Linked DNA regions of Homo sapiens: region 2 is linked to region 1. The links are contacts of gene promoters, found by promoter capture Hi-C in blood cells and fetal thymus (Javierre and others, 2016). All regions are on one chromosome and are shown on one strand. The core of a region is centred on a gene start or on the middle of the fragment in contact, and the rest is flanking DNA. Distances in the headings are between cores, read along the strand shown.

Region 1 (6,933 bases), core at 3,433-5,932:
TGACGGAGCGAGATCTTGTCTAAAAAAAAAAAAAAAAAAAAAAAGTCTATGTCCCTATTACATGAATTTGTGACTGCCTAGACCAAGTGAGGATAGTGGAAGCAACACTATGTGATTGCTGAGGCTAAGTCATAAAAATGCTATGCATTTCCTCCTTGTTCTCTTGGAACACTTGCTCTTAGAACCCAGCCACTCTAATGCAAGGAATTCCAAGTAGCCCGTGGAAAGCCCTACGTGAAAAGGAACTGAAGTTTCTGCCCACACACCTGGCTGATCTTCCAGCTAGCAGCCAGCACCAACTTGCCAGCCATGTGAGAGTGCCATCTTAATAAGAGTCAAACTATCTGAGCCAGCATGGAACAGAGAACACGTCTGCCAAGCCCTGCCCATGTTGGAAATTCATGAACAAATTAAATAATTGTTGTTGTCCTAATCCACTAAGTTTGGTGACTTGAATAGAGCAATAGATAACTAATATGTCATCTCATTTTTAAACTCATGTTTTTACTCACTTAACAGAAACAGATCAGAGTTCCTTTTGAAAATGTGGTGTTCAGAAGAGTTCTTGGGATGAAATGAAGCTTACAGGGCAAGAGTCCACGATTGATTAGTGAAGTCATCCCCGGACATAGTCTGAGAGATGGCACCAGTGTTGTCTATTTGTCAATCGTATTAGAATTCAGCACCTTCATTTTATATAATTAAGACAGAATGCTGGCAGGGTAAGATCTGCTTAAGATCACACAGACATTTAATACCAGAGCCAAAGCTCTAAATCAAGTCTTCTGATGTGCAGTTTAGTGTTTTTTCACTTTGACATGTCCCTTTCCGGGGACCTGAATTCCCTGATTTCCCTGAATTCCCTGATTCCAGGGACCTGAATGACAGGACATAGAGCAGCAGATATATGCCTGCATGCTTCTAGTTCCCTCTCCCATGCCTGTGACAGATATCATTGACCCTCTCTTAAGGTCACTGGGATGCACTTGGATGACAGATTCCAAATTCCCATGGTTAACGAGAACCTGAGTGGAAATAAACAAAAGCTATAACTGATTTGTACCACCAGTGTCAGAGGAGTACAGCAAAGGTGACTCAAAGTACAAACTGTACTTTGATATGGAAAATGCATTGTGTGTGAGCAAGAGGGAAGGCTTTAGGCATGACTACTCTGTATCAAGGATGTCTGTCTGAAACCACACATAGACTGACTTCTTACAGAATCTACTAGGGAATTGCTTCTCATGTCCTTGGGAAACTGTGCTGTAGATCCTGTTAGATAATTTCCATTTAATATTTTATAACTTATTTTGTTGTGGGTGAAATAAAATCTGTTACGGTAGTTGTGATGTTGTATGTATATAATTTGGCCTCATTTCAAACACAATAGAATTGGAATGCATACAACACATACAGGGCGGTACTGAAATATTGTACACTTTAATAGCTGTGTTCTTCACGGTGTGCTTGGCATCGTCTGAGAGCAAGGTAGGCTCAGAAAAAAATATAGACCATTTCTAGGGTAAAACTTAAAAGCAGGATATACAAACCTATGGCACTATGGATTACAGGGTAGCTCACTGAGTACAGCATTCAGATTCATCCAATGTAGGACCAAGAGCAGAGCTTCTCTGAACTTGATCATAGTGAAGCAAAACACCCTGCAAAAGAAACTGTAACTAAACTCCTAGAAAAGCAATGACCACTTTCTCCTCTCCTATGATTCTGACTAGCGTGTGGGATGGGGTGAGGTATGCAGGTTATTTGCATAAAACAAGCAGCCAAGTGCATTCACTCATTTATTTGTTCGTGGAGTACCTAGCAAATGCAAGGTGCTCTGTTAAACACTATGGCAGACACAAAGATGAAACGGACAAGGATTTTGTCTTCAAAGGTTCTCTAGTAGGGACCCCACTATGCTCTCTTAATAGAGTAGGATTTGAGAACATGGGCCTAATGAGTTAGAAATCTAATTATCAGCCAGTGGCACCCAAACAAAAGATCATGGGGCTTAATCCTCAGAAGTAGGATACATCTCTACAATTGTCTACACAAACCAGCAGGCATCAGAAATGTTAATAGCATACCCCTTCACCTTTCTCTCTGCCTCCCTTCCCAGTCTCTCTCTTTTGTTCTTCGTGGATTTCATTATCATTGGAAAAATCATGAATTGCTGGATCACTTAGATGCATTAGTGTGCTCTTATGAAATCATTCCTGATGACAAAATTCTTTTAATCAGCTCCACTTTCAGATTTTCAGTATAGGCTTGTCCTTTAACAAGTAAGTTTTTTTTTTTTTTTCCAGAACAATATGGAGCAGGTATGGCAAAACAGAAATACAATATTCTTGGAAGTAGATTCGTTTGGATAATAATTAAACTTTCCTTTTTCTGTACTTGGACTTTATTCTTCTAGTAATTTCTTTGTCTACATTAAATTTTCAGGAAGATTGACGATATCATTCTTTTAAACTCTTTAAAAGACAGTCAAATTCTTGTTACATCTTTTCAGGTTTTGTATTTTATGTTTAGGAGCTGTTCATTTATATTTCCCCTCATCTTTTCTGGAATAGACTATCTCATTGCTTCCCACTGTGTTTTCCTAAATACCAGCAACTTGTTTTTCAACAAATAATCTTAACCCAACAACCAGCTCTCAAAGCTTTATAACATCTGGTAAATGCTAGTGCACAGGAACAAGGCAGAAAAGAATCTAAAGAAAGAATATGGGGCCGGGATCGGTGGCTCACGCCTGTAATTCCAGCACTTTGGGAGGCCGAGGTGGGCGGATCACCTGAGGTCAGCAGATTGAGACCAGCCTGGTCAACACGGTGAAACCCCGTGTCTACTAAAAATACAAAAAATCAGCCGGGCGTGGTGGCTTGTGCCTGTAATCCCAGACTTGGGAGGCTGAGACACGAGAATCGCTTGAATCCTGGAGGTGGAGGTTGCAGTGAGCTGACATCACATCACTGCACAGTGACTCCGTCTCAAAACAAAAAAACAAACAAAAAAAAGAAAGAATGTGGGCTTTGGAGTTGATCCAATCTGATGTCATGCAGGGCTCTACCAATACCTTCGTGACTCCGATAAATTAATCTTACCAGGGCATCAGTTTGCTTATCTGTAAAATGGGGATAAAATTCACACTTCAAGGTAATTATGAGGATTAAGTACAGTATAAGAAAGCAGAGAGCATGGTCCGTAATAGGCACTCTTTAACAATTTCCCTTTGCTTCCTCCGAAAAACGACAATCATAAAACTCAGGATTTAATCATTAAAACATAAATAGTTACAGATGCAAAACACTCATGTCCCAACGAGCTCTTCTGACACTTTGATATGCAGAATATTTGGCATTTCTTTCTTCTTAATGGAAAAATGCTCCTAATATTAGTAAAAATGAAAATTTTGGGGGAAAAATTATCCACAGTTTCTTTATCTGTGGATAAAGAAAATAGAAACAGCTGCTTCTATTTTTGTCACGGCCTGGCTTTTATACAAAACGGTCACATTTTCCCCACAGTCACAAACAGGGTGTGTTTATCATGGCATCACCTCTTTCAAGGGACTAATAGATTTATTCCAGGTGATAGTGGGAAGCAGCTACAGAAGGAGGATTGGAAGGCTGAGGGGTTGTTAAAGTTATCTGATGATATTGTTCGAACATTTCTCCGGCACAGAAACTCCACAAAGAACTCCTCTGCAGTTTTCGCTACCCAGGGCTGTTTCTTTAAATTGTTTGACGTCAGAGAAGGAATGCTATAGCAACAGTCTGTCAAACTGGAATTAACTCAGAAGAAAAATGGGGGTGGGGAGAGGAAAAATGCTCCCAGGCGGTACTGACTTCAGAGGAAGCAAATTGGATAGATGCATTTATTTTATGACATTTTAAACATAAAACACCCAGATAAATGTGAAAAAAAAAAAAACTCGATTGAGATGCATGTGGTGTTTAACTCATGCAGAGAAGAGCGACTTGGCAGGGATATCTGGAAGGCCTTCCAGTTTTATCAATGACAATAGGAACAATAACTTCCAAGTATTGGCCATTTATTTGGAGGCAGGCTTCGTGCAAACATCACTTCATTTAATATGCTTAGCACCTTTATGAGGCAGGTATCAGTATCTTTATTTTGGCGATGACGAAACTTAGGCCCGAGACGGTACACGGTCCTACAACTAGTGATGGAAGAGCGGGGACTGCAACGCAAGGTTGTGCAACTCTGGGCTTCAGTTTACTTTCTGACATTTAGAATTCCAGAATGGGAAACCTAAATGGGGCCTTTGGGGTCTTCTAGCTCTGCCCTTCGATCCTGCTAACAAGCAAACTGGCGCCTGTCAGCGCCGGAAAGGAAACTGGCCACGCCACTTAGACGGGCGCTACTTAGCAGCGTGCCCCGGCGCCACACCAACAAGAAAACGAAACTGCCCGGGAATGAATGTTTTTCTTCTCCTTCTGGCAGGAAACGAGAGAGAAAATAGGAAGCAGAAGCTGCGCGCGGCGCCCGCTCCCTTCGCCCCCCGCCCGGGCTGCGCGCGCTCCGAGGGTCTGCGCGTCCCCGGCACGTCCCCGCCGGGCCCGCGCGCCTCGTGCCTCGCGCCTCGCGCCTCCAGCCACGTCCCCGCCCCGGCTCCGGCGCGCCGCGGAGTTGGCTGCTGGGAGGTGCGGGACTGGGTGTGGCCGGCGGCTCTGGTCTCGGCTGTGAGCTGCGCTCTCCACGCCGGCTCCGCGCTCCAGGGGCTGCTGAGCGCCCAGCGGACACCGGCAGCGCGCGGTCGACGCGGGCCTGAGCTCCCTCCAGGTAGGCGGCGAGCTCGCGAGCGGCGGCTCGTCGGTGCGCCCCGCGAAGCGATCCCGGGCTTCTCGCAGGGACGTGGGGCGCCGCGAGCCACCCCTGCGGAACGGGGCCCGGGTGACGGCGCGGGGCGGGGCGGGTCTCCCCGGGCTCGGGCGGCCGACGCTGCCCGGGAGGGACGAGGAGGGCGCGCCTGTGTCGCGCCCAGCTGCCACGCGGGAACTGGCCCCACGACCGCCGGCGCAGGCACTTCCCGGGCGGTCCAGACCGCTCGCCCCGGGGAGCGAGGAACGGTCGGCGGTCCAAGTCCTGCAGACCCCCCTGGTTTCTCGTCACTCCCCGAGGCCTCCTTCCAGGAACTCAGAGCACGAGCCCGTGCGTGCCCCCAAAATAACGGGTATTCGGGACTGCCCAGCAGGGCTGTTGGGTGGAGAGTGCTTGGAAGACTCATAAAAGTTCTACGCTGAGTCCAAAATTAGTCCAATGGTTTTGTTTCAGATTTATTTTGGAAATGATATAATGTCCAGAGTTTGGGGATGGGAGGGGATTGATGAATTTTGAATACTTGTGAGTTCAGTACAATAAAAAGTGTTTTGCTTTTCTCTCCACCTTTTTCTGCTTCAGAACACAGATGATTGCCATATACTTTGATATGTATTGCTATTCGCTAAGGGAACGTTGAATTTTCAAAAGTTTGAAACCAGGCTTTCATTTGTTTATACAAGCAATACTTTGTTATTTTTCGTCTCCTTGTGTTCCCTTTTCTCCCACTCCTTCCCTTTCTCTTTCCATAAAGGATAAGGATGCATCTTTCTCCCTCTCAGCCACCGACAAAGTAGCTTGGCGTGTGGCTTAGCGGGAAGTTTTCTTAAAACGTTCAAAATTTAATTGTTGATTAGAACTTTTATTATGAGTCCGTCTCAGTGTTGCAAACAGAGTTTATGACCATTAAGTACATCTTCTAGGACAGAGACAGAACACACGCTACTTAATTTAAGATGGGAGGGAAGTTATTTCTAGTCGGAGAGGAGGACGGCTGATTAGGTGCATTCAAAATTGTGTGCTTCGAGTCTCTGCCATTGTTCATTTTAATACTCTTCAGTTTGGGGCTTTTGGTTTACTACTGATCCTAGGCTCTGAAAATTTACTGTATATTTCAGTATGTGGCTTAAAGACATTTTAAGATTTTCCATGTTGCATTTTGGTTTGTAGATGAATTTGAAACTGAAATAGAAACTTTTAAAATATCATCTTATTGAACGTTGTCAACCCTCTGTATATACATTTATAAAACTGATTGATACAGCTTGTGATATTTTAGGTTGGTTCAACTCTTTGTGGGCCCATAAACATTATTTAGGAAGTTATTCCGAGTCTTTGGCCTTTGTTAACCTGTAGAATTGTTTCTTTTAAACAATTGGCATGTAAGTATGTCAGCACATACTTTTACACTTTAAAAATAGACTCTGGGGCAATTTGAAAATTAAGAATTGGAACTAAGTGTTGGACATTCTTCTGGCCTTACCAAATACTGCCTGAGATGGTGTGATTTCTCTTAGGCATGTTATTGAAGTCAGCTGGCTGTATCATCAGTTTCTTTACCTTGCTGACTATTTTAATCTGCGTCTGTTATGGACTTATTTATTAAAATATCTCTTCTGGGCTGGGGCAGTGCTGTAAGTTATTCTACTTATATCTCACAGTAACACCATTATCTACTTCCACAGGTAAGGAAATTGTCTGTGAGGTTTTAAGTAACTTGGCAGTGGTCATGTAGGTGTTAGGTAACTCAACTGGGATTCGAAGCAAGACCCCTCTGTTTCCAAAGTCCATGTTCTTTCCCCTGAGCCATATTAACTTAGTTCGAGGGCATGAGGAGTGACCCTCAATTACTCATTAGCATGTGTGTAAAATATCCAAGACATGCCAGAAGCATGTTTGTTTTTCCAGCATGATCATTATTGTCTGTCCCATGTTTTTATACAGCTTCTCACATCAGCCATTCTCTTCTCACCACTCTACTCCTAGTTAAATGTCTTGTTCCAAGTTCAAAACCTCCCTTTTGCCAGGGCACAGTGTATCCTATTGATATTAATAGGTAGTGATGGCTTAATTATCTTGATAAAACAGTAA
Region 2 (6,976 bases), core at 1,750-4,249, 140 kb before region 1:
GTGATATCTTGGCTCACTGCAACCTCCACCTCCCAGGATCAAGCAATTCTCCTGCCTCAGCCTCCCAAGTTGCTGGGATTACAGGCACATACCACCATGCCAAGTTAATTTTTGTATCTTTGGTATAAATGTGGTTTCACCATGTTGGCCATGCTGGTCTCAAACTCTTAACCTCAAGTGACCTACTCACCTTGGCTTCCCAAACCTACCTGCAACTTCTAACATACATGTGGACAAATGTTTTTGAGTAGATACCTAGGAGTGAAATTGCTGGCTTATATGATAAATCTATATTTAGCATTTTAAGAAACCGCCAAACTGTATTCTAAAGTAGCTATACCACTTTACATTTGTAGTTCTGGTTTAACCATTTCCTTAGTAACTAGATCAGTTTTTTACTGCTTTTTAAAATAACTGTGGTAAAAATCACATAACATAAAATTTACTGTCTTGACCATTTTTAAGTGTAATAGTCAGTAGTGTTTAGTATATTTACAATATTGTGAGAAGTTGGTTACTTTTTTATTTTATTTTTTTGAGACGGAGTTTTGCTCTTGTTGTCCAGGCTGGAGTGCAATAGCACAGTCTCGGCTTGCTGCAACCTCCACCTCCCGGGTTCAAACGATTCTCCTGCCTCAGCCTCCCAAGTAGCTGAGACCACAGGCACACACCACCACTACTGGCTAATTTTTTGTATTTTTAATAGAGACGGGGTTTTACCATGTTGGCCAGGCTGGTCTTGAACTCCTGACCTCGTGATCTGCCCGCCTCAGCCTCCCAAAGTGCTGGGATTACAGGTGTGAGTCATCGTGCCTGGCCGAAGACTTAGGTTTTTATTTAGATGTATGTTTTTACTCGATGCTTTCAAGATCAACCCTTTATTGATTTTTTTCTGTGGCATAGTAAGTAGTGAGAACAGAACTCAGTTTTTATAATAGCATTAGTCCTGCTACCTAACCTTAGCTACTTTAGTTTCCTTTCCTCACACCAGTCGCAGCCATTTTTACCACACTGCCTTTAAGATGGAAGGACATAACGATCCCTGGAGAAAATCAAAGAAGGTATAAAATGAAACCTCATTGATTTACCCTAATTATGGAGAAGGTTATTCTGATGTAGTGAAAGTTGAGTTATATAACATTTTTTTCTTTTATCTTTATTTTGACATAATATTAGACTCACAGAAAAATTACAAGAATAGTAGAAGGAATTCTCATATACCCTCCAGATTGCTCTGTTTTACTGCATTTACCTTATCCTTCTATGCATCTATCAGTCCTCCATACACAGTATTTTTTCTCAAATGTTTGAGAGTAAGTTGTACACATGACATCCCTTTATCTATAAAAACTTCAGAAAAACCAGGATATTCCCTTATATAACCACTATGTAAATTTCAAAATCAGGAAATTAACATTGATACAGTTCTGTTAGCTGTAATCTACAGATCTTATTCAGAGTTTGTCAGTTATCCCAAGTGTCCTTTATGGCAAAAGAAAATTCTGCATCATGAATTTTCATGTGTCTCTTCAGTCTCCTTTAATCTGGAGACTCAGTCTTTGTGTTTCCTGACATTGAACTTTTTTAAAAGTATAGGGCCTGGGAGGTTGAGGCTGCAGTGAGCCACGATTGCACCACCAAACTCTAGGCTGGGTGACCGAGCAAGACCCTGTCTCAATAAATAAAAAATAAAAAGTGCATTGACAAGTAAGGATGCTTTATAAAGAACACGTTATTTGATGAAAAAGCTTTTGCTATAATGGTGCTGTTACAGAACTTTTGAACTTCAACCGTGGATTATCTGCTTTAAATATGTATTTCAGAGGTGAACTTCAGCCCAGTAGGTTATATGTACTGCACTTTCTCAATCAGTAGAACCCAAAATAATAAAAGTTTACTCCAGAGAAGCTGAAAGTGACCATAATTTTTTCAAACTTCATATACATCTGGTGTTTCCAGTGTTTTGTGACATACTACTAAGGAAACTTTATTAAGCAAAAATGTAAAAAAAATTCTCAATATAAGATAGAAACCGAAGATTTGGAACTGTTTAAGGAAGAGTAAAAGAGAAAAGAATTATAATTGGGATATAATTCTTATCACTGATGTGAGTTGATATCCAGTTGAAGCATATTACAGACAAATTTTACTTAGAGAATAATATAAAAATTAAGGGAGAAATTATATAATTCTGGCACAATAGTTAGCTATGATTGTAACTAAAGTATTAACTATCCATTTGAGATAAATGACCCTCACTATATGTGCTTCTCTTCAGAGTATTAGTATCTATTTATCACACAAATAAATGACATGTTAGTCCCCTTGTGTTTGAAATACAGAAACAAGGCAAATGTTGAAAGATTGATTATAATTTTGCAAGTGTATCTTTTTGTCTCTTTTAAAAACATGTGTTTCAAGGGCTACTCTGTAATGTTAATTCTTGGCTGTAAAGAGAAGTGTATACTCTTACCCTGGAACACAGTCCTATTTTATATTCTCTCAACTGACGCTCCTGGCACTGAGAAACTTATAGAAAAGAAGGCTCTTTGAGGTTGACTTGTTTTCAATAAGGTATATCTAAATAATACTTTTGATTTTCCTTCACATTTCTTGGCATGAACTTCTGAATGTTAATTCTGTGGACTTGGTAGCCATTTACTTTCTATCTTTGTGAGCTAACACTGGATTTCAGCTGGAAGCCTCAAGTCTTACCCTTGCTTAGGCAAACTCTTTAATGCAGTTAGTGAACAACCAGCTTTACTAAAAATTTCTAAAGATTAGAGAGTTTTATATAAAGCCCTTATCAATGTGGTCCCTTTACTCTCCTAAGTTTGCTTGTCTTCAAAATAGAATTTGTCTTAGTCATCATTTCTTTTTCAGGGATTTTGTAGAAAATAAAATAGTTAAGAGGAAGGCATGTGAATTCAGCTACTGTAAGGCATTTAGTGAAGTTGAGGATAGCAGAAGTGCTGAGTGTGAACTGAGCAGGTTATGGGCCAGGTGCAATGGCTCACGTCTGTAATCCCAGCACTTTGGGAGGCCAAGGCAAATAGATCACTTGAGCCCAAGGAGTTTGAGACCAGCCTGGGCTACATGGCAAAACCCTGTCTCTACCAAAAAAATACAAAAATTAGTCGGGTGTGGTGGTGCATGCCTGTAGTCCCAGCTACTTGGGAGGCTGAGGTGGGAGGATTGCTTGAGCCTGGGAGGCAGAGGTTGCAGTGAGCCAAGATCGTGCCACTGCACTCCAGCCTGGCTGACAGAGCTAGACCCTGTCTCAAAAAACAAAAACAAAACTGATTATGAAGTAATTTATCTAAATTTGTGGCTTTCATATCTTTTTCAGATCTCATAGCTACCTGGGGGATTATAATCTGTGCTTTTTTTGAGGATTCTTATGAGAAACAAATGTGCTTATGCAGTATTTGATATCTGTTGTGATGCTTAAGGGACATACACATAAAATGGCTCTCAGTATGTATTTAGGACTATGAAAAAGTTTGGCCCATCTCACATTACAATCCCCAACATATGAATATTTATATGTAAACAAATAGAAGGCCGGGTGCGGTTGCTCATGCCTGTAATCCCAGCACTTTGGGAGGCCAAGGTGGGCAGATCACCTGGGGCCAGGAGTTTGAGACCAGCCTGGCCAACATGGTGAAACCCCATCTCTAATAAAAATACAAAAAATTAGCCGGGTGTGGTGGCAGGTGCCTGTAATCCCAGCTGCTCAGGAGGCTGAGGCAGGAGAATTGCTTGAACCTGGAAGGTGGAGGTTGCAATGAGCCAAGATCACGCCACTGCGCTCTAGCCTGAGTGACAGAGCAAGACTCTGTCTAAAAAATATATATATGTATAAAACCCTGCCAATATATACATTATAAAACAATAGAAATCTTAAAGAGGTAAAAATAAATAGAAGTTTAATAGTATCATCTTGCATCTTGATAAATCTTTGGAGATTCATATCTGGATGGACTGCTATTCCTTTCCCTGTAGTAGCAACAGCTACCAAGCAGGCCACAATATCTGTGTCTGCATGTCAAGGACACAGTGATTAGTTGAGACCAGAACATGTCTTTTTTAATATAATGAAAATAGCAAATTATTATCACTTCTTATTAGCTCATTGAGTTTTGAAATAACATGAATCAAATTGGGTCTCCAAAAGGAATCTATGTAAGTGTATCTCACTCCAAACAAAACTAATGGAAATATATTTGTAGTTAAAACTGTAAGCTTTTTAAAAAATACAGAAAGTGGTAATCTAGACACCCATGTAGACATACTTGTGCCAAAAAGATTTTTAGGAAATACTTAACAGAGTGGTTCTTTGGCATAAATATTCATAAGTTTTCTGTAGCAGAAGTGTTTATACATTCTCTTTTTTGGGAATTTTGTAGTAGATGATTGTTGAAATTGTATCTTTCTATTCTCTTTTCAGGTAGTAGATTCCATGGATGCATTAGATAAAGTTGTCCAGGAAAGAGAAGATGCCCTAAGGCTTCTTCAGACTGGTCAAGAAAGAGCTAGACCTGGTGCTTGGAGAAGAGACATCTTTGGAAGAATCATCTGGTATGTAGTTAACACTGTGGCTCTTCTAAGATGAGAGTGGAAATCCATGCCTCATTCCCCTGCCCAATATCTTTTAAAAAAAAATTTGTACCATATGAGATAATATTAGAGATATGTCTAATAAAAGAAGAGGCCCCACACCCCTTTGGACTTTAATGAAGGAGGATATGAATGAAGGTAGCTTTATCTGGTAAAACCAGCCCAGACATCCCATTCCTATGATTCAGTTACCTATAAGTCTTTATTGTAGTGGTTCTTAGTCTTATATGAATCACAAGGCCTTTTGAGAATTTGATGAAAGTTAGGGATCGTTTCCTCAGAAAAATGTACATGTACACATATCACTTCAGAAGGTATAAAATCCATGAAGCTAACTTCAGGACACACACCTGCCCTCTTTGCACATTGAGAACCTGGAACTATTTTTTTTAAAGTCTCAGGGAATGTCACATGAACCAGTTTCAGTTTGCTCCCACTGCCATCAGGATAAGCCCTAGGGCAAATTATGAAGTAGTTTATTTTTTATACCTCCTTGTTTCTCCTACATTCAAATCCCAGAGTCTTGTCAGCCTTTGGGAAAGGATCTGGTAATCAGCCTTCATGCTGAGGTGTAAATAACTGAGAAGACCTGGTGTAAATAAACCTCCTTCGGTGGGGAGGCTGTTCAACCCAAAGGTAAATAAACCTCCCCTCAGAAAGAGGTTTATTTACCTTTGGGCTGAACAACCAAGATGAAATATCATTAGACTTTTAAACGTAGGCAGAATGGGGAAGGCATTTTGGTTAGAGACCTTCCCTGTACTCTTGACATTATACCACTTAACTCATAACTCATTCGGTAGGTTCTTTTAATGGGGTTTAAGTCCAACACAGAAAAGAGAAATTGCCAAAGCATCTCACTAAAAATGTTTATGTTTTATTTTCTACTAATTTTTATTTGGACTAACCCTTTTGAGGTAAATTAGGAAAGTGAAAATGTATTAAATGTTTTCTTTAAGGCAAATAACTTTTTGCTTTATTGGCAGGCACAAGTTCAAGCAGTGGGTTATACCTTGGCACCTAAATAAAAGATACAATAGGAAACGATTCTTTGCCTTGCCTTATGTGGACCATTTTCTCAGGTGAGCACAAGCACCTTTAATAAAACATATTATCTTTATACCAGATGACATATGGTCATATATCATACCAGATGACATAAAGAAAGCTTAAGCTGTCTTTAAATTTTAATTTCTGTTATTACATAAGTATTATAAAAAATAGGAAAGTCAGGCTGGGTGCGGTGGCTCACACCTGTAATCCCAGCACTTTGGGAGGCCGAGGTGGGTGGATCACGAGGTCAGGCGATCGAGACCATCCCGGCTAACATGGTGAAACCCCGTCTCTACTAAATATACAAAAAATTAGACGGACATGGTGGTGGGCACCTGTAGTCCCAGCTACTTGGGAGGCTGAGGCAGGAGAATGGCGTGAACCCGGGAGGCAGAGCTTGCAGTGAGCAGAGATCGCGCCACTGCACTCTAGCCTGGGTGACAGAGTGAGACTCCGTCTCAAAAACAAACAAACAAACAAAATAGGTAAAAAAGAAAATTGAAGTCATATATAAGCTCACCTTCAGAAATAGCCACAGTCAGCCAAGCGTGTTGGCTCATGCCTGTAATCCCAGCACTTTGGGAGGCCAAGGCAGGCAGATTACTTGAGGTCAGGAGTTTGAGAACAGCCCGGCCAAAGTGACAAAACCCCATCTCTACTAAAAATACAAAAATTAGCCGGCCATGGTAGCATGTGCCTGTAATCTCAACTACTTAGGAGGCTGAGGTACGAGAATTGATGGAACCTGGGAGGTGGAGGTTGCAGTGAGCTGAGATTGCACCACTGCACTCCAGCCTGGGCGACAGAGTGAGACTTCATCTCAAAAAACAGAAAAAAAAAAGAAATAGCCACTGTTAACATTGTAGTATGTATCCTTTCAAAAGTTTTATTGCCTTTCTATTCTTGTATCTATATGTAAATGGAAAAATTTCTACTGTTATGTTAAAATGAAGGTCCAAATAATTCAGTTGCATACAATGTGAGTTCATGTTATTGCAAGGCTGTTGAAAAGAAATGGCGCTAGGAAGAGAAGTCTGTTATATTATATCTAAACTCATGTTGTCCTGCAGAATGTTGATCTCCAAATATTTCCTTTAGCACATTTTTCCTGCATTAGGTTTATCATTGAACAGGGAGAACATAGGGCTTCTGTTATGATAGAGGAGTGCAGTGTTCCCATGAACCACTCACTGGTAACTATACAAACTTAAGATTTTTTTTTAAAGAGCTATTTTAAAACACTTGGGCCATATCCAAAAGGAGACAAAGCCAGAGGATATAGTTTAATCCCCAAAACTGCAAT

What was found. Contacts are between HindIII fragments. The CHiCAGO score rates a contact against its expected background, and 5 or more counts as called.
Region 2: a fragment that was not itself captured here is called in contact with the fragment with the promoter of GNB4 in region 1 in 1 of 17 cell types (monocytes); the score reaches 5.7 in monocytes.

The regions. Positions count from the first base shown.
Region 1 is chr3:179,449,219-179,456,151 of GRCh38, reverse strand. It overlaps GNB4 (G protein subunit beta 4), which reads left to right and starts at 4,682. Exons shown (of 10, transcript NM_021629.4): 1 at 4,682-4,806. It also overlaps the pseudogene RPL29P34. RefSeq lists silencers at 4,512-4,661, 4,702-5,111. The HindIII fragment of the contact is 16,902 bases long and covers 2,665-6,933 here.
Region 2 is chr3:179,591,370-179,598,345 of GRCh38, reverse strand. MRPL47 (mitochondrial ribosomal protein L47) reads left to right here. Exons shown (of 7, transcript NM_020409.3): 5 at 4,451-4,581; 6 at 5,607-5,702. Among named protein-coding and RNA genes, the nearest start is that of MRPL47, 9.8 kb to the left of the region's middle. The HindIII fragment of the contact is 2,497 bases long and covers 1,751-4,247 here.